5 separate regions of the Homo sapiens genome follow, and regions 1, 2, 3 and 4 are each linked to region 5. The links are contacts of gene promoters, found by promoter capture Hi-C in blood cells and fetal thymus (Javierre and others, 2016). All regions are on one chromosome and are shown on one strand. Each heading gives the region's core, a stretch centred on a gene start or on the middle of the fragment in contact. The rest is flanking DNA. Distances are from core to core; before and after follow the strand shown.

The links. The method cuts DNA at HindIII sites, captures the fragments that hold promoters and counts their contacts. A CHiCAGO score of 5 or more calls a contact.
Region 1: a fragment that was not itself captured here is called in contact with the fragment with the promoter of PLCH1 in region 5 in 1 of 17 cell types (naive CD8 T cells); the score reaches 5.5 in naive CD8 T cells.
Region 2: a contact is called between a fragment that was not itself captured here and the fragment with the promoter of PLCH1 in region 5, in 1 of 17 cell types (neutrophils). The highest score is 7.4, in neutrophils.
Region 3: a contact is called between a fragment that was not itself captured here and the fragment with the promoter of PLCH1 in region 5, in 2 of 17 cell types (non-activated CD4 T cells and naive B cells). The highest score is 6.1, in non-activated CD4 T cells.
Region 4: a contact is called between a fragment that was not itself captured here and the fragment with the promoter of PLCH1 in region 5, in 1 of 17 cell types (naive CD8 T cells). The highest score is 5.3, in naive CD8 T cells.

The regions. Positions count from the first base shown.
Region 1 is chr3:157,200,843-157,205,198 of GRCh38, forward strand. All of the region lies in intron 2 of LOC101928236 (a long non-coding RNA gene), which reads left to right. Among named protein-coding and RNA genes, the nearest start is that of CCNL1, 43 kb to the left of the region's middle. RefSeq lists a silencer at 1,060-1,109. The HindIII fragment of the contact is 2,695 bases long and covers 958-3,652 here.
Region 2 is chr3:154,231,145-154,235,119 of GRCh38, forward strand. All of the region lies in intron 11 of ARHGEF26 (Rho guanine nucleotide exchange factor 26), which reads left to right. Among named protein-coding and RNA genes, the nearest start is that of DHX36, 91 kb to the right of the region's middle. The HindIII fragment of the contact is 4,105 bases long and covers 1-3,975 here.
Region 3 is chr3:154,307,140-154,311,203 of GRCh38, forward strand. DHX36 (DEAH-box helicase 36) reads right to left here. Exons shown (of 25, transcript NM_020865.3): 5 at 2,514-2,684. Among named protein-coding and RNA genes, the nearest start is that of DHX36, 15 kb to the right of the region's middle. The HindIII fragment of the contact is 1,084 bases long and covers 1,142-2,225 here.
Region 4 is chr3:154,349,635-154,353,561 of GRCh38, forward strand. The region is part of intron 3 of GPR149 (G protein-coupled receptor 149); the gene reads right to left. It also overlaps the pseudogene DDX50P2. Among named protein-coding and RNA genes, the nearest start is that of DHX36, 27 kb to the left of the region's middle. The HindIII fragment of the contact is 5,725 bases long and covers 1-3,927 here.
Region 5 is chr3:155,743,695-155,747,588 of GRCh38, forward strand. PLCH1 (phospholipase C eta 1) reads right to left here and starts at 1,377. Exons shown (of 23, transcript NM_014996.4): 1 at 1,146-1,377. RefSeq lists enhancers at 614-1,235, 1,130-1,339. The HindIII fragment of the contact is 4,475 bases long and covers 1-2,199 here.

The sequences.
Region 1 (4,356 bases), core at 1,055-3,554, 1.5 Mb after region 5:
TTCAGGTAATCACTTCATGGTTTTTCTTTAAAAGAGGACTTCTTCAATGACATGTATAATTAAATACATCATAGTTTATTTTATCATGGGAATAAATGCTTGACTAGTTAAAGGATACTTAGCATATATTAGGGTTGCCTAGTGGACAAGCTGAATTCAGCACCATAGGCTTTGACCAAAAGAAAGCCCCCTGAAACCTACAAAAAGAGTTAGAAAGCATCACTTACTATATTCTTGGTGTCTCTGCAAAATCTCGCCAAATAGAAGAGTATCTCTTCTACTATATGGAAAGAACACACATGCACATTTATTTTGTGGTTTACTTTAGTATCTATTTCATTTCATCTTCATGGCTACCTTAAAATCTTACAGTTGAAATTTAACATGTTTTACCGTTAATTTCCTTGTGGGAAATGAAAAACAATAACTGACTGGACTGTTCTCCCTTCTTTATAGCAGTTTTTTAACAAATTATTATTCAGTGGGGATTAGATTTGATTCTGTTCGCCTCTGGGATGTTGTACTAGTCCACGGCTGGTCTTTCCTAGGAATTAATTGAAAAGGAAATGGTAGATATGATTAGATTGCTGGACCCAGTAAAAAGGTAGACGCTGAGAGGTACCCGTGGCCAACTGAGACAAGCTGCCCATGAATTATGCTGCTCTGTGCTTATTAAGACTTCATGTTGCACAGAAATGGATTGAAAAGATGTAAGTTATCCAGTCTCTCAATATTACCCTCAATAATTTACTTCCAAAAAGAAAAAAACTGATCTGAAGATTTCAGGCAAGAATTTAAAATTGCTAATCTCATTTCATAACTCCAAAAGGATTTTATGTCTGTCACTGTAAAACCTGCTGTGGATATTCCTAAGTCTCAATTCAGCCAACTTCCGAGAATTCCCACAGCATGAAAATACATGAATCGCCAGTGCTTGGGCTAAATGCAAACCAATTAAGCTTTTAAATAGCTGAAGTGTGAGCTAAAGCCTGCTACATAATTTAAATGCCATCTAGTGGCCAAATGTCATCTTTAGTCCTCATTCAAAACAGTTTTGGTGCCTTCTGGTATTTATCTTAGGGTGATATACCAAATAGTTTTGAGTCAATCATATGATAGCCACTTCTGCTTTCAGAGTGAAACGAAATTGGAATATGATAAAAAATGTTTAACAGCTTGAAATGTGCGTAAGTCCCAGCTTTTATTCCAGGGTCATCTGCTTATATGGCTATAAAACAGAGTTGTTGCTTGGTTTGACTAGTATGCCATCAAATAGTACCCGTAAGCTGGGCACAGTGGCTCACACCTGTAATCCCAGTACTTTGGGAGGCCGAGGCAGGTGGATCACTTGAAGCCAGGAGCTCAAGACCATCCTAACCAACATGGTGAAATCCCATATCTACTAAAAATACAAAAAATTACCAGGCATGGTGGTGCATGCCTGTAGTCCCAGCTCCTCGGGGAGGTTGAGGTGGGAGAATCACTTAAAGCCAGGAGGCAGAGTTTGCAGTGAGCCGACATTGCACCACGGCACTCCAACCTGGGTGACAGAGCGAGACCTTGTCTCAAAACCAACCAACCAACCAACCAAACAAAAAACCCAAATAGCACCCATAGTTATAATTTACTATTTTGCCATTGAAAAATTAAAGCATATATGTAATGTTAGGAAGCTAATATAGGACCGTATTTTAATCATTGATAGACAGAGGATTTAAAGGATCAGGCTTCAGTCTTAGCAAATGAAGTAGCTGTGAGAGAGACATATCATTTGTCCATAAGTAAGTGCCATGCACAAGCACATTAGTATGATTATAATAATAGTGGCCTTGAGAGCAGCAGCCAACATAGATTAAATGCTTATATGCCAGGTACTGTTCTGCATGCTCTGCTTGTATTAATTCATTTGATCTTCACAATAACCTAATGAGGTAGGTATTGTGGTTGCACCCATTTTATAGGCAAATTGGGGCACAGAGTGGTTAAATTTCATGCCCACTAGAGAGAGGCCGAATAGGAATTGGAGCATTTGGAGTATCCTTTGGTCTTTTAGCTGGTTTGGATTTTGGGTAGTGCTTTGGTGGAAGGATCCTCAGAGAATCATGAAAGACCCTTTAATATAACAAGGACACAGTCAGCACTTGATCATCCTATGATCTAGGCAGAGTCTAGATCTAGGCAATGCTCTAGGAAGAGTCTGGGAATGTTGGCTCAAGGATGAGGCTGTGCAAACAAGGCTCTCTCTGGGTCCCTGGCAAGAACAGCTTTGGTTAGACCTACCTGCTCTTTTGGCTCTGTGGGGGTAAATCATCTCTGGAGAATTGAGAGTGGATTTTGCTTTTGTATAATTGTGGTCTGGGGTTATTTGTAACGTCTTTCTCTCTCTGTTTAGATCATAGAGTTGATTGATTTGAGTGCAACCAAACTAGCTGTGGTCATTCAATAAATAAGACACCATTAAGCATTTTTCTTCTTACTGGTCACAGATATGGTTCTATTCTTTCACTTTGGACATGTGATCATATAAAGCCTTAAGGATAAGAAATTAGGTTACTACCTCACATAGGGATTTGTTGATTGTATTGTATTGCATTATTGTATTGTATTTATTTATTTATTTTGAGACAGAGTTTCACTCTGTTGCCCACGCTGGAGTGCAGTGGGGCAATCATGGCTCACTGCAGCCTTGACGTCCCAGACTCAAGCGATCCTCCCACCTCAGCCTCCCAAGTAGCTGGGACTGCAGGCATGTGCCACCACACCTGTCTAGTTTTTTTAAAAAAAATTTTTGTAGAGGGGTCTTGCCATGTTGCCTAGGCTGGTCTCGAAGTCCTGGTCTCAAGTGATCCTCCCACCTTGCCCTCCCAAAGTGCTGGGATTATAGGCATCAGCCACTGCACCCTGCCTGCTTTATTAATTTTAGTGAGCCTCACATACAGTTTTCAAAGTCAATAACCATGGGTTTATTATCCTCAATTTACAGATAAGAAAACTAGGATGAAAGAGATTACGTGGTTTGCCCAAATTCACATGATATATGGCTATAGAAGTAAGACTAGAACCTAGGCATTTCATTGAATATGCTAAACACACATATACACACTCATTTTTCTAGGTATATAGTATTAATATGTGCATATGTATAAATGACAATGACAATTGAGTATTTAAACATTTCAAGATGTGAACATGAAAATTATGCTAATTCTATTTTTTTAAAAATAGAGACTGAGTTTCACTCAGTTGCCCAGGGTGGAATGCAGTGGTGTGATCATAGAGTTGTAACCTTCAACTCCTGGGCTCAAATGATCCTCCCACCTCAGCCTCCACGTAGTCTCCTCAGTAGCCAGGACTACACGTGCATGCTACCGTGCCCTACTAATTTTTTAAATTTTTTGTAGAGATGGACCTTTAATTTCAGTTTTGTCATCTATTCTGTACTTTCTCAGTTACTATTAAAAGATCTTCAATAGGACAGATAATCAAATCATCTATATAACATAAATAATTTAAATGTTTTACTGACTAAAAGACAGAATCTAGGTAATCTTTCAAGGCTTACTCTAGATTTCTAGTTTTATTAGTTTTTAATTTAAGAAATTTATTAAGGATTTCTTTTCATAAGATGATATACCTTTACAGCAGTTTAACAAGCTTATCATGCTTCATACAATTTATCCAGAAGGAGGCAGCATTTTACTATTAAATTGATGCTTCCGCAAAGGTTCTAAATTGTTTTGTTTTGTTTTTTAAAGATGTAAACTATCTAAATACACACACCCTAAATCCTTTCAGGGCAAAGATTCCTGACTATCACTAGAGCTTTGCATATTGCCACAACTGTGAAATCCAAATTCCACTCAGATTAAATGCATCTAAAATTACAAATAGCATAGATAGTAGCAAAATTCATTGGCAGAAACCATTTTTGCAATAAAGATATTGATCAAAATAATTTAGAGTTGAACAGAAGATGGAGTAGAAGGGAAAATGAATGATTCAGTTGTTGCTAACTTGTAGAAAATAAGTATTTGGTTAATAAGAGATCAACTTGTTGAAAAAAATTTGATTCACTCAGAAACAAGGATAATGAATTAGTTTTAATCATCTAGCTAAATTCATAAATGGGACTTGCTGTTTCTTTTGATGTTTTTATTGAATCATAGGATCTTTAGAAAGAAACTTGAAATTTCCTGTGGCATATTTCAGTGATTGCTGGTCAGAACTCATTTCATCTATCACGGAAAATGAGAGTCTATCTGCTTTCAGAGGATTAGGAAGAAGGGAATTCCACCATGATAAGGGAAATTAAGTTATGAGAATAACAGGATGGCAGAGGGGCCTTTTTCTGTTGCC
Region 2 (3,975 bases), core at 792-3,291, 1.5 Mb before region 5:
TTCTGACCATTTTGGAATTGAGTTCTAAATTCAAGATGGCAAGATGGGGTGGAAAAGAAATGGGAGCCCTGTTTCCTTTTTGCTCCTTTTTTTCTTCCGCTGTCATTTGCAGCCTTGATTCCTCTGATGTTATGAGGTATTGTTTCCCCTGCATCTGTAAGGAGAGTTGGCATTGCTGTTAAATGTTGAAAGCTGCCACTACTGAGAAGCACAATATCGATGCCTGGGGTCAGAAAACTGAGCTCAAATCCTGGGCAAATTACTTCTCGTCTCTCAGAGCCTCAGTGTTCTATCTGTAATATGGGGATAATAACATCATCTTCATCATGGAGTTTCTGTGAGAATTAAATGAGATAATGCACATAAAGCTCTTACTACAGTGAATATGAATAGTCCTGCTAAGTAACTGATACATGCTATCATTAAGATTATTTTTGGTATTGTGTTCTCTCTCTAAAGATTTTGCCGTAAATCAAATTATTGCCCTTCTGCTTCTAGAATATTTTATTGTTTTTAAAAAATGATTTTAAACCTTTACGTAATTGCTACATAGCTGAAGGTACGGCACGCTCTAGGACCAGACATGAATTTATGGCCTCCAGAACATGAGCAGTTTAGGAATAAATGCCTTTAACTCTATGCCTTTCCCTCCTCATGAAACCCATGTCAGGCGGCAAGTGAGTGAGGAAAAACTATTGGTCAATTTTTATTCTTTATAAATTGGTGTAAATCATGTGTACACGTTGTAGTAGCAGTTTTTTTTTTTTTTCACTATTCCTAAATGACTAGGAGACACTATAACATTGTTGCTGAAAAATGTGAAATAAATAGTATATTTTTCCTTTTTATTGATGTCGTCAGTAGTGTGGTACTCCTGAATTGGAGTGTGGGGTTGCTGTATAATTTGGATAACCTTGTTACCCACTTAAGAAGCTGTGCCTGCTCTTCAGGGCTTGCTTAGTTCAGCTTATCCCAGGGAGAGAGCTTCAGAAAGGTGGTGACAGCCTCTCAGAACTGTCCATCTCCTCTTTTTCAAGGACTATGGGTTCAGAGCATCCCATGAGCAGCCACAGAAGTGCTGGGCTGTGGCATCTGGTGACCCTTGGTGACAGGGATGGGGCTTCCTGGCCCTTTTCTGGGTCACTGGCCATCTTTTTTGGTGGCAGTCATACTGATGAATGGGGATCCTCATCTCCACTATTTGTTATATTATTAACAATGAAATAGGATGTATGTGGCATGTTTGTTAGACTTCAGAATTAGCTTGAGGAACTGAGCAAGTAAGCCTATTTGAAATCAGTTTCTGGATAAATATTGTGCCTTGTTTTGCTGGTCTGAGCACTTGCCAAATTGTGGATTTCTTGACATGGGTATTTAGCTCTAATTATGCTTGGTCCACTTGTGCATTTGCAAAACATATAATTATCAGGCTTTTAACAAAATGTCAGGCAATTTAAATGGATGGCGTTCTGTTAAGAAAATAAAAAAAATAGCTGACATTTACTGTAAGTCAGGCATGATTGTAAGTGCCTTACACACAATGAGGTAATAAATGTATTATCTCATTTAATCCTCTCAACAATCCAGTCAAGTTGGTACTGTTATTCCCACTTTACAGATGAGAAAACTGAAGCACAGAGAGGATCAGTAACTTGCTTTGGTTCACAAAGCCAGTGAGTGAGTGGGTTTCTTTCTTTCTTTTTTTTTTTTTGAGACGGAGTCACCCAGGCTGGAGTGCAGTGGCATGATCTCGGCTCACTGCAACCTCCAACTCCTGGGTTCAAGCGATTCTCCTGCCTCAGCCTCCGGAGTAGCTGGGACTACAGGTGCTTGCCACCACGCCCGGCTAATTTTTTTTTTCTATTTTTAGTAAAGACGGGGTTTTACCATGTTAGCCAGGATGGTGTGGATCTACTGACCTCGTGATCCACCTGCCTTTGCCTCCCAGAGTGCTGGGATTACAGGTGTGAGCCACTGCATCCAGCCTAGAATTGGGTTTCTTACCAGACATTCCAAATCATGGCTCTACTCTTACCTGCTGTGCCATATTTCATTCCTTTAAAATTGTATATTATTCCACTAAAAACATGTTAGTAGTATAATTCTAAAACCAAATTGAAATGGAAATCAACCTCAGTCAAGTGAAAAAAAATTTTTAACTCCTTGACTTAAAATAAATTTCAGCATAAATTCAATGTCCTTCATCCCAGCAAAGTTTGACTAGAGTGTTTCTGTTCCATTTAAACACACGATCAAGTGCGACGGTTTAGGAATCATGTTTTTTAGAAGGAGAAGGGAAACAAGTTGAAATCTACAGAACACTTTTTCTCATACATATATTGGAGGAAAGTAGGAAGAATTTCCTTTGATCTCATAAACCCCATTAACTCCTGTGTATCAGTGCTACTGGGGGGGAATGTCAGAGCCATTAAATTCCTCAGAGGGATTTAATGCACGACAGTCTAGAAGAGGATCTTGGAGAGTGTCCCCAAAGAAGAATGACTTAGAAATGTCACAGAAGGCATTAGAAGATAGAGTTTCAGGATTCACAGTTGCTCAGTGTCACTAGATTCTGTATACATGCAAAGAGAAATAATGGTGAAATCCAGGTGTTTAATTTGGTGGGGTGATGGGCCATGGTGGCCTTCGGAAGCCATTTCACTGGCCTGTAAGCACAAGGGTCTGAAAAAACGCAGGCAGCTGCTAACTCAGGAAACATTTGTTGTGGCACCAGCACATTCTAGTAAATATTTTTTTCGGGACAGAAAAGCTATGTGAATGTTCTAAAGCCTATGGAAAGGAAACTACTGAATAGGTAAAAAATAAATGTCACTATCTTGAGAATATATGCCAAAAATCATATGAATATCAATGATGTGATAAATCTCAATAGCATCTTTTCTTTTAAATTAAACCTTTTTACAAAAGGAAGAACTGGAAGTGCTGCTTGGGTTTCCATCTGTCGGATTTGGGCCATAAAACAGAGTTTTAAAACAATGTAAGCGGGTACGTGAGAGTTACACCTACAGCTGGGGCTGAGAGACGTGGGTTGTGGGAAAGCTGGCTTGTGCAGTCTAACCCTTTCCCTTGCCTCCCCATCACCATCCTTCCTTTCACTATCCTGGGTGCATCTTGGTAAGCTAGCCTATTTTCCATTCCTGTTCATCCGTATTAAGTATCTAAAATGCTTGCTAATAAGGATTAAGATGAGAACTTGCCCTAAGGTATGTACATGTTTAACAGCACCTCTCTGACCACAAGGCAGGCCGTTAAAGGTCTGTATCCAGCAGAAAGACCTGTCTTGTCACTTAGTTTTTCTTCACAACTCTTTATGTACCCAGAGCTTGGGTCCAAGGAAATATCCTGGTTTAAGGAGTGAGATTGGGATCAACATTTTAAAAAAATATTTGATATGTTTCCCCAAATGTCCCAATATTATTTATTGATTAACCCATTAATTTTTTTAGAGATTTGAAATGTCACCTCTATATCCCCAGACATGTCTGTGTCAACTCGCAAACCCACTATTCTGCTTCACAATTCATCAGTCAACTCGTGCCCTTGTCCCAGTCTTTGAATTTCTGCAGCTTTACAGTATGTTTATTTTTTAATTTTTTAATTTTAATTTTAATTTTTTTTGAAGCGGAGTCTCACTTTGTCGCCCAGGCTGGAGTGCGGTGGCGCAATCTCGGCTCACTGCAAGGTCCGCCTCTCAGGTTCACGCCATTCTTCTGCCTCAGCCTCCTGAGTAGCTGGGACTACAGGCGCTCACCACCGCGCCCGGCTAATTTTTTGTATTTTTAGAGACGGGGTTTCACCGTGTTATCCAGGATGGTCTCGATCTCCTGACCTTGTGATCCGCCCGCCTTGGCCTCCCTACAGTATGTTTTAATACATCATAAGGCTAGTTTATTCTTTTTTTTTTCCACAATCTTTCTGGCTATTTCTGCATGTTTATTTTTTTTCCGTGTTTTA
Region 3 (4,064 bases), core at 434-2,933, 1.4 Mb before region 5:
AGGGTGAAGACTACCTGAAACTGAAACTACTAGAAGAAAACCTAGGGAAAAACTCCTTTGGACATTGGTCTAGGCAAAGAATTTATGACTAAGACCTCAAAAGCACAGGCGACAAAAATAAAAATAGACAAATGGGAATTAACTAAGAAGTTTCTACACAACAAAAGAAATAATCAACAGAGTAAACAGATAATTTCCAGAACGGAAGAAAATATGTGCAAACTATTCATCCAGCAGTGGACAAATACCCAGTATATACAAGAAACTCAAACAACAACAATAAAAGACAAATCATCCCCTTAAAAGGAGGGCAAAAGACAAGAACAGACATTTTTCAAAAGAAGATATACAAATGACTAACAGGTATATGAAAAATGCACAACATCACTAATCATCAGAGAAATGCAAATTAAAACCACAATGAGATATCATCTTACCCCAGTCAAAATGGCTACTATTAAAGAGTCAAAAAATAATAGATCTTGGCCAGGACATGGATAAAAGAGAACTCTTACATACTGTTGGTAGGAATGCAAATTAGCACAGCCTCTATAGAAAACAGTATGGAGATTGCTCAAAGAACTAAAAATAGAGCTATCATTTGATCCAGCAATCCCACTGCTGGGTTTCTACCCAAAGGAAAAGAAATCAATGTGTCAAAAAAAAAAAAATACTTGTCTTGCATGTTTATCACAGTACTATTCATAACAGTAAAGATACGGAATCAATCTAAGTGCTCATCAATGGATGACTGGATAAGGAAAATGTGGTGTATATATACACCACAATGGAATACTATTTAGCTGTAAGAGTGAAATCATGTCGAAATAGACACAAAAAGACAAAATATCATATTTCACATAAGTGGGTGCTAAAAACCAGGTATATGTGGACATAGAGTGTGGAATGGCAAACGATGGAGACTCAGAAGAGAAGACAGGAGGAGGACAGATGATGAGAAATTACTTAATGGGTACAATGTATATGATGTGGGTGATGGACAACCTAGAAGCTCTCACTTAACCACTACACAACCTATGCATGTAACAAAATTGCACTTGTATCCCATAAATTTACACACTTCTTTTTAAAAAGGGGTGAAGTCTACTGCTCTTTCTTTATAGTACTTCTTAGAAACCAAAGCTTAAAACATATACTGTATTTACTGCCAAGTGCTGTCATAATTGGTAATGTTTTTAACCACAGATTCTATATTAAATGACTTAGACATGTGATAAGCAGCACTGCCATAAAACCAAAGACAAACACAAATCTTTATAATTTATACACAGAATTATATAGCATAAATAAATTCACTATGCACACTGAAATATGACAAGAAACCCCAAACACCTTTAAAAAATATATAACTCACATATTTAACTAGGTCATCTAACTAAAAACGATGACGACAACAAAATCAATGTACAGGCTGAGTATTCCTTAGCCAAAATGATCAGGACCAGAAGTGTTTCCGGTTTCTATTTTGGAATATTTGCATTATACTTGCCCTTGTTAAACATCCCAAATCTGAAAATTCAAAATGTGAAATGCTCTAGTGAGCATTTCCATTTTGCTACTCAAACAGTTCTGGATTTGGGAGCATTCTGGATTTCGTATAGTCAACCTGAACTAAAAGTTACTTATAAACTGTTACTTAAGTATGCCTTCCCAAAATTTTGGACTTGACAAACCAGAAACAATACCTTATTTTTCCTCATAAATTTCCTCTTACTGAGTAGCTGCATTCAAAAATGACTGACTATGGCTGGACACAGAGACTTATGCCTGTAATCCCAGCACTCCGGGAGGCTGAAGTGGGCAGATCGCTTGAGCCCAGTAGTTCGAGACCAGCATGGGCAACATGGCAAAACCCCATCTCTACAAAAAATACAAATATTAGCCAGGTATGGTAGCACATGCCTATAGTACCACCTACTTGGGGGGCGGAGGCAGGAGGATCACTTGAACCCTAGAGGTTGAGGCTGCACTGAGCCGTGTTATCACCACTGCGCTCCAGCTTAAGTGACAAAATAAGACCCTGTCTCAAAAAATAAATAAATAAATCACTGACTACAGAAATGCAGCTTAAAAAAAAAAACAAGGTTTCCCACTTTCACCACCATTCAGTGTATTTACATACTCAAAAAATGACAGAAGTAAAAAAAAAAGTTAAATAAACCAAGTAGTAAAATTTAAAGAATCAAATGATGGAGATTATTTGAAGCTTGTAATCAATTCTATAAATATTTTATCTATTTCATTCTTGTGAACATGTACTGAAATTTGCCTGGATATCAATTTTATCTTGAATTCATAAATATCTATTATCTGTTAAGAGAGAGGTTACTCAATTTTTTGGGCTTTATTATTAAACATGTTAAGCAACTATTTGCTTTCATAGTCACCAATCCTAAGCCTAATTAAGAATCACTCCACACCTTCAGAATCAGTAGGTTCTAGCAAGATTACTTTTAAAAAGACAATTTTTAATAAGTTAAGAGATTACTTACTGAAATGGCACTAATTCTTCTTGGCTGAGTACAAACTATTCTGCAAGCAGATCCTTTTCCTCTTTCAATGTAGTTATCCAAAATGAACTGAGTAACTTGAGTGGTTTTGCCACAACCAGTTTCACCACTTATTACTGTTACCTGATGGTTATCAATTAAATTTACCAATTCCTATTTCAAAAGGGAAAATAAAGAATATCACATGTTGACTAAGTCTGAAAAAAGATATTAATCAAAATTCGACCAAACTGAACATAGCTATTTTTAACAAACATATTAATGCTTTCTAAATTTTGCCATATCCAATACTGGCAGTTTGGATATCTGGATCTACCAACCTGCAAGAGATAAGTGCACCAAATTATAAAGAACAAAGCCAAAGCACTGTTAAAGAAAAACATATTGACATAAACAAGAAGAGACAGCTTATAAGTTCCATGGAGAAGAATTAAAATAATGTTGATATGTGGGGCTACTGAGTACAGAAGCAAACTCCTGGCCTAAACAACTATTGAGGACATTACAAATTTATATAATTCATAAATATGGCTTTGTCTGCAGAACAAGTTTTGTATGCCATTTTAGGAGCAAGGAAGAGAATATTGTATTTTAAAATTACTTCCTTTCAAATAATTAAAATAAAGTCATTGAATATCTAAACCAAAGCTATCTAGAAAACCTCATATTTGGGTTTCATTCTTCCTCAAAATTGTATACATTAATATTTTTAATAATAATATTCACTGTATAAACGAAGTCATCTTACTACCTCAAAGGGATGTTAGGGGTTATTTTCATGTATAAAACAATTTAACTTGAAAACCTACCTTTTAAAAATTCCCCACTTAGGCCGGGCATGGTGGCTCATGCCTATAATCCCAGCACTTTGGGAGGCTGAGGTAGGCGGATCATGAGGTCAGGAGATTGAGACCATCCTGGCCAACATGGTGAAACCCCATCTCTACTAAAAACACAAAAATTAGCTGGGCGTGGTGGGTGCCTGTAACCCCAGCTACTCGGGAAGCTGAGGCAGGAGGATCGCTTGAACCCGAGAGTCGGGAGTTTGCAGTAAGCCGAGATTGCGCCACTGCACTCCAGCCTGGCAACAGAGCAAGACTCCCTCTCAAAAAAAAAAAAAAAAAAAAAAAAAAAAAATATATATATATATATATATATATATATATATATATATATATATATGTATATACATATATATATATTCCCCACTTATTCTAACACATTATACATACATAGATGTGTATATATCAGAAAAAGTTTTAAGTTTGAACACTGAAATTATAGCTGGTAAATACTCAGAAGTGAAATGTGATTCATCCAATCAGAAGTTTATTTACTGGAAGTCTTTAGAATGCCAGGCACTGTTCTGAGTCAAGAGACACAGAGTGAACAAAACAAATCCTATCCTCAAGAACTTACACTGGCCTGGGAGGGGAAGACAAACAGATGTCAGGTGGTAACAAGTGCTATGAAAAGTAAAAAATAAAGTAAAATAAAATAAAATAAGGTTGAGAAAACAGAGAAGGATGAGAG
Region 4 (3,927 bases), core at 135-2,634, 1.4 Mb before region 5:
TTCTCTGGAGAACTCTAGCAAATAGTTAAGTAAGGATTAATATAAATTCTGCACAATCTCTTACAGAAAATACAAGACAAAGGAATACTTCTTGATTCATTTTATAAACCTAGTTTTACCCTAATAATCAAACTCTACAGACACTACAAAAAAATAAAACTATAGATTAGTATCACTCATGAATATAGATGCAAGCATCCTTAACAAATATTAGCAAATAGAATTCAGCAATCTATAAAAAGAATTATGTACAATGATCAAGCAGGGTTTCTTTCAGAAATTCAAGGCTGCATCAATATTTATTTCTTTACTTATTTGAGATAGGGTTTTGCACTGTCACCAAGGCTGAGTGCAGTGCTATGCTCACAGCTCACTGTAGCCTCCACCTCTATCTGTACAAAAAATAAAAAAATTTAGCTAGGCATGGTGGTGTGTGCCTGTAATCCCAGCTACTGAGGAGGCTGAGGTGAGAGGATCACTTGAGCCTGGGGATTTGAGGCTACAGTGAGCCATAATCATGCCACTGCACCCAGCCTCAGTGACAGAGTGAAACCCTGTCTCAAAAATAAAAAAGAAAAGAAAAGGAAACAAAAATTGTACAGACCAGAAAGGAAGAAATGAAACTTTTGCAACTTGCAGATGACATGATTGATTTATGTAGAAAATCCCAAGGAATCGACAAAAAATCCTCAAGCTAATGATTGAGCTAAGCAAGGTCACAGGATATAAGATACATGTACAAAATCATTTGTACTTCTATGACTAGCAATGAACTCTTGGACATCAAAATAAAAAATGCAGTACCATTTACAATTGCTAAAAAGGTTAAAGATTTAGATGTAAATCTTATGAAACATGTATAGGACTAATATACTGGAAACTACATGACACTTTAAAAAGTTGACAATCTGAATAAATGAAGAGACATATTGTGTTCATAGACTGGAAGACTTGACAGTAAAGATATCAATTCTGTAGAAATTGATCTATACATTTAATATAATTCCTACAAAAATCCCAGCAAGATATTTTCACAGTTATAGACAAGATCATTCTAAAATTAAAATGAAAAGGTACATGAACCAGAATAGCTAAAATTATTTTGAAAAAATAAATACAGTTGATCTTTGGTATCTGTGGGGGATTGGTTCCAGGACCTCCTGTGGATAGCAAAATCTTCAGATGCTTAAGTCCCTTATATAAAATGGCATAGTATGTGTATATAATCTGTGCACCTCCTCGCATATACTTTAAAATCATCTCTAGATTACTTATAATACCTAATATCATGTAAATGCTATGTCAATAGCTGTTTACTATATTGTTTAGGGAATACTGACAAGAAAAATGTCTGTATGTGTTTAGTACAGGCATAATTTTGTATCTGAATATTTTTGATCCAAAGTTGGCTGAATTCACATATAGGAACCCACAGATACAGAGAGTTGACTGTATAATGGGAGGAATCAGGATATCTAATTTCAATATAGCTATAATAATCAAAATTGAGTTGTTGCTAGAGGGATAGAGACACAGAAAAATGGAACAGAATAGAAAATCCAAATGTAGACTCACTCAAATATACCCAACTGACTTTTTACAAAGGTACAAAAACAATTCAATGGAGGAAAGTTAGCCTTTTCAATTAACAGTGCTAGGGCAATTAGACATCCACATACAAAAAAAAAAAAAAAAAAAAAAAAAAAAAAAATAACCAGCTACATCTGTTTCATAGTTTATTCAAAAATTAACTCAAAATGAATTGTAAACTTAAATGTAAAATGTAAAACTAAAAATTTTATTTGAAAGATATAGGAGAAAATCTTTGAGATCTAAGGCTAGGAAGGGGTTATTAGACTTGACACAAAAATCATGATCCATAAAAGGATATTTGATAAACTGGACTTCATTAAATTAAAAACTTGTTTTGTGCAAATGCAAATTTTGATTCAGGGAGTCTATTGTTGAACCTGAGATTCTGCACTTACTAAAAGTTTTCAGATGATGCTGAAGCTGCTGGTGTAGGAACCATACTTTGAATAGCAAAAGACAGACAATCTGTTTGGCTCCTTACAGTCCTAAAATTACAGGGATAAATAATTTAATGGACAAATAAATTTTGTTATTTTATAGGGTTCACAATTAAGAGAAGTAGAGGAGATAATTTCAGTGGAAGGAATAATAGAAACCCCTCAAAATCCAATTTTATAGCTGTATAAAATGAAGAACAAAATGTTATCTTTTCAAATGTCTTTAATTATCTAATATTCTCATTTTTTCTAAAAAGATAATAAAAGGAGGTTTTTTAATTCAAAGGTATAACTGAATAGGTAGATTTGTTTATAGCTATTCTTGTGAAACACTTTTTAAAAAAAATACGACCAACTTCTGTGCAAATAGCAGACACATACCTCAACTATCATGAGCTAATTTTTGGTGGATAATATACATAATTAGGCACAAATAGGCAAGTTCACACTGGTAGATTAAGTATCAAATATTCAGTCAAAACTCCATTTGTGGCCCCCACTTCTTGATCGAGTTCTATTCCCACTTCATCTTCTACCATCTTGTCGACTTCCTGAGTGACTCCCTTGTCGACTCTGTCTACCTGATAGGCCACCAGATGGACCACCTGACTGGCCTGACCCGCCTGACCAGCCACTTGACCAGCCATTCCTCCGTTGGGGATTAGAAGACTTGTTTCCATCATAATATTCTTCAATTTCAGGTAATTTGGCTGGCACTGAGAGTATCCAGTTGGAATCGTGCCACACTGCCTGTAACCTTTCTGATTCAGTTGTAGGAACATCAAAGCAAACACCCATATTTCCTTTCAGGAGGCACACACTGGTAATCTGAGACGCTGTATTACTACTTAGCTTTCTATTAAGTTCTTTCCAGGCACAGGTGACATCCTGTATTTCCTCTAGGCTTTCCAGAGTCATGGTCATCAGAGGCGATCAAAGACTGTGGTTCAAAACTTGATGCACCAGAAATGTGGGCTAAAGTTGCAGCCAATGCATCCACTGCCCCTTTCTCTTCTATCAGTCTCTGAGCTGATGGTCAGAAAAAATCAACAGCAGCATAAGAAACGGAAGTCAGAAACCTGATGGTATCCATGCTTTTAGATTTAACTAAATCCATTGTAGAAGGAACACCTACACATTTAAAAGTAATTCTTGCTTTTTGTTCCACATATCTTAGTTGACCTCTTTCTCTTGGTTGATAAAAACATATACAAATCCCTGTCCAGCTCTACCTGTGCATCCAGAGCGATGGATACGGGCCTCAACATCCTGAGGAGGAGAATGTTGAATCACCAGGTCTACTTCAGGAATGTGCAAACTATGGGCAGCCACATTGGTTGCCACCAAAACTTTAAAACTATCTTCTCTGAAGCCTTTTAGTGTAATTTCTCTTTGTGACTGTGCAATATCCCCATGTAAACACTGGGCATTCTGTTTTATGTGTGGATTCATGGCCATTTCAGTTACATTCTTCCTGGTCTCACAGAAAATAATAGCCCTCCCTTCAGACCCACTGTAGACTTGAAGGACATCTCCAATAACTGCTGGCCTCTGAGACCAATGACACTGAATGGCCAAGTGTTCCACAGTAGTTGCAGCCTTTTGAGTCATTTATCCAATAAGGTCAACCTGTTCATATCTGGATTTCATGTATTTATTTGCAACTTTGTATACCCACTGTGGGCAAGTTGCAGAAAAAAGTAAAGTCTGAGGATGGTCTTCAGATTCAGTTTTGTAGGATTTGTGAATCACATCTTCAACTTGTTCATTAAAATCTAAATCTAACGTTTGATCCACTTCATCAAGCACAACATGGCACAGTTTAGAAAGATCCAATCAGCCACTCTGCAGATGATCTTTGATATGACCAGGGGTTCCAACCAAGATGTCAATACCA
Region 5 (3,894 bases), core at 127-2,626:
TCATTGGCATTATACTCTGGTCCCTTTTGCAGAGCATCTCCTTGTCATAAACATGCCAATAAACAGGACATGGGTGCTGCTGGGTTGTACAAGCTCTGCTCTTCACCTGGGTTAGGAGGCACAGATTTGTTCTTGTAACGCTCGAGAACAATCACTTCACTGAATTTTCTAACTCCTTACCAGGAAGTAAATGTTTTATTCGTCTCCCCTTTTCGGGACAGAGGGGGATTTCAATTGCTGCCCTAATAACTAATCTCTCACCATTTTCTTCTGTCCGTGATCAAAACGGTAACAAGGGAAGGGAAAAGTTGGGTTTTTTTTTTTAATTTAGTTGGTTATTGCTTTAATGCTGAACTCTCAACGTCAAAATGTGATCACAAATTGATTCGCAGAAGGAAACAAATAGAAAAAGCCTCGGGAAGGAGGGGAGAGGGCGTCGCAGACGCTCAACAGGGAACTGGGTTTAGGGGCTCGCGGGGTGGCGTCTCGGACCCGCAGCTCAGTCGCCAAGGAAACGCCGCGCAGGCGCAGAGCGTGCCGCCGCGGGGCCGGGGTTTGCCTCCACCACCCCGCGCCGCTCGGGCGCTCTTGGTTCTTCCCAGGAAAGGGCAATGGAGTATATCCTCCTCGCGCTGAGCACACCTAGTCTCTAAGAGGTCCTGAGCAGGGTCACCGGGCGCAGGAAAAGCTGTGAGACTCCCCAAGTGTAACGGACGCTGCACTCCCCTTGCTGGGAAACGCGGACCTGCTCTCCTGGCGGCGTCTGGCGGTCAGAGAGAGGGTCCCGGGACCCCGCGTGAGGGTGAAGCATCCTGCAGCGAGGCTGGACCTTCCACCGGGCGAAACGCCACCCACCACCACCGCAAGGGACCCGAGAGTTACATTATTTCGCGGACACACACACCCACCCTCATCCTTCTGAATTATGGGACCCTGAAGAGCGGCCGTGGCCAGTTCCCCGCACGGGGCCTTAGGGGATCCCCACGCACAGCACTCACAGTCCTAAACAGGCGTGTGCCGGCTGTGGCTGCCGAGAAAGGAACTTGGGCCACCTGCTCACTCGCTCATCGGACTGGCGTACCAGTTCTCTTTTTCCTGCACACCCCCTTCTCTCCTGGGCCCCTTCTTCCCCCGAAAGCACTGACCTCCTCAGCTTTGAGTGTTCAGTAGCTGAAGGACTCCTCGGAGTCCGTGGCACAAGGAGCCACCTCCGAAGTGCTGGGGTGATGAGTTATTGGCCCCTGTGACTCCAACTCCAAACCCCTGCCAAGGGCCAGAAAAGCCCCCCTAGAAGAGCACTTCTCCCCACTAGCCAGCAGAAGCCCCAGACGAGCGGGGAAGAGCAGGGCGCCGCCGCCACAACCTGCTTTCTCATTCAAATCCTCACGCTCACACAGGAGCCCCCCTCCCTCTCGGCCCCGCAGCTTCCGAGGAAATCAGGAACTGGAGTTGCGGAGAGCGGACTGGAGCGCCTGCTGCCTCCTCTGGCCCGGGCGGGATGGGTGTACGGAACCCTAGGGCTGCACGTGGAACCCCAAGGCTGCACCTGGAACCCTTGGCTTACACTCTCCTGCGGGGCTCCCCGCTTGGCAAGGGCCAGAAGCACTGGGAATGAAGTACTTTTACTCCCCCGCAAGTTTCAAAAGTTTCGAAACCCAGGGTAACCCCTCGGGGCTGTAGCCAGAGGGCCTCGGTGGTGGGGGGTAAAGGAGTTGGAGAAACAAAGTTGGAAGTGAAGGGCGCAGGGAATGGGAACTGCGTGCAACTTGCACCAAAGTGAAAAGTGTTCTCAAACGTCCGTCTTACCTCCTTTAAAAAAAAAAAATTTCTAAGAATATAGCATCTGTCGATGCCGCAAATTAAAGAGATCTACTCTGAGTGAATGGGAACTGCGTGCAACTTGCACCAAAGTAAAAAGTGTTCTCAAACGCCCGTCTTACCTCCTTTAAAAAAAAAAAATTTCTAAGAATATAGCATCTGTCGATGCCGCAAATTAAAGAGATCTACTCTGAGTGAAGTGCAACTAAAATTGAGAGCGTGTAAATGGTAACACTTTGCTTTTATTTACCCCCAGTCTCTTCATTTGGAAATGCTACTCCTTGGCATTAACAGGCCACTTATTCACTTAGATCCGTTTAGTGGCTGGTTGACTCAAGCGGGCAACCTGCCGGGAGTAAGAAGGCGGCGGTGGCAGAGGAAAGCTTGCACGAAGCAGGCACTCAAGTGTTGATGAAACGATGAAATCTACTGAATGCACTGAAAGGATGAGTGACCAGCTTGGGGCGGATGCTGGAACCGCCGCTGGCCTAGACGGCCGCGGTGTGATCCGGCTTCTGGATTCCAGGATTTACATTTATCAGCCTTCATTCAACCTGCCCTATTGTTAGTTCAAAGCCTGGCTGGGAAGGAGTGGGGACGCAGCTCTTCACTCACCTTTCAGTTTAAAATAATCCTCCAATAAGAATGTCCTAGGAAAGCTGGCAGCATGGGGTTGGCAGGGATTTTCTGGGCTTAGTGACAACATAAACTAAAGTCATTTTCTTTTTTCATGCGTGAATTTGCCCAGGAAGTTACAAACGAGTAAGTTACAAATGAGTGCCTGAGATTGGAGCTCAGGGCCTTGGCTGCCTGTTCTCTTTGACAGACAGTGTGGAGGGTGGTAGCACTGTGACCTCTCAGCGCAAGATCTAGGGTTTCACCTTTTCATCCCACTTAGCCGATACCATAGAAACAACCCATTTGTATTATTCAATTCAACAGAGGCAATTACAATGTCACAGCAAAGCACCATGGGCAAGAAGAAACTTTGTCCTGAAAACAATCCTAGACTCTCAGAAAAAAGAAAAAAGCCACCAGAATACCCACTTGAATTTCTTCCTGCCAATAGTACCAGGAAGAAATCAATTTGGAAAAAATGTAGGTAAGGTCCTTTGCCTCTATAGAAAGAAACCTCCCCAAATTTACTTGTTTTTGTTTTTGTTTTTTTGCATGCCCATACACAAGCCTCAATTTATAAGAAATTAAGTCATTAACCCTCTGCCTCCAAACTGCTTTATATTTTGTAAACAAGCTTGTTGGAGATTTGTTTTGCTGGTAACCTCCATGGTGAATAGAAAAGCCAAAAAAAAAAAAAAAAAAAAAAAAACCACCAAGATAATCCCTCAACAGCAGCAGTTCACCCCCTAACCTCCGGTGTTTGTCTTTCTTGAGTCTGAAAAAATGCAGATGCACATGTTGAAATAAACTCAGACACAAAGTTCATAATAAGAGCACTTGTTTGCTATGCATTCTTTATTTTGATAGTTTTAATCAACTCCCATAATTTTGTAAACTTTTAAATTTTTAAATTGTGTGATATTTCAAACCTACCAAAAACAGGATATATACCATGTAATACTCCTGCTCCCCCCAGCCCTTCTTTTTTAAATAAAGCATTACAGATATAGCTAAACCCCAACTCCTGACTCGTTACCCCCACCCCTTCCCAAAGGTAATAATTCTGAAGTTGGTATGAATCATAATTATGCATGTTCTTAAATGTTTAGGACATTTATACATCCATAATCTTTTAATGTAGCTTTTCTCTCCAAGTCGTTTTAACATTATTTATCTGAGAAAAATCACTAAAACAATTAATTAATTAATTGGAGAAAATCACTAAAAACAAGAAAATGTGTTACATTGCTAAGTTTTTAGAAGCAGGACAGAACTATTTTTCCTGCTTGTGACAATCAGAGTATGGAATAATAACAAAGGGATTAGACAGTGGGTAATAAGCAGCCTCTCTAGGTTACACAAACTCTTCCATGGTTACCAAAGAATAAATAGAAAAACAAAACAAATAATACCCTCCTCTTTCACTGGTTAAAGGGGAACTGGAGAAAATGAGATCTT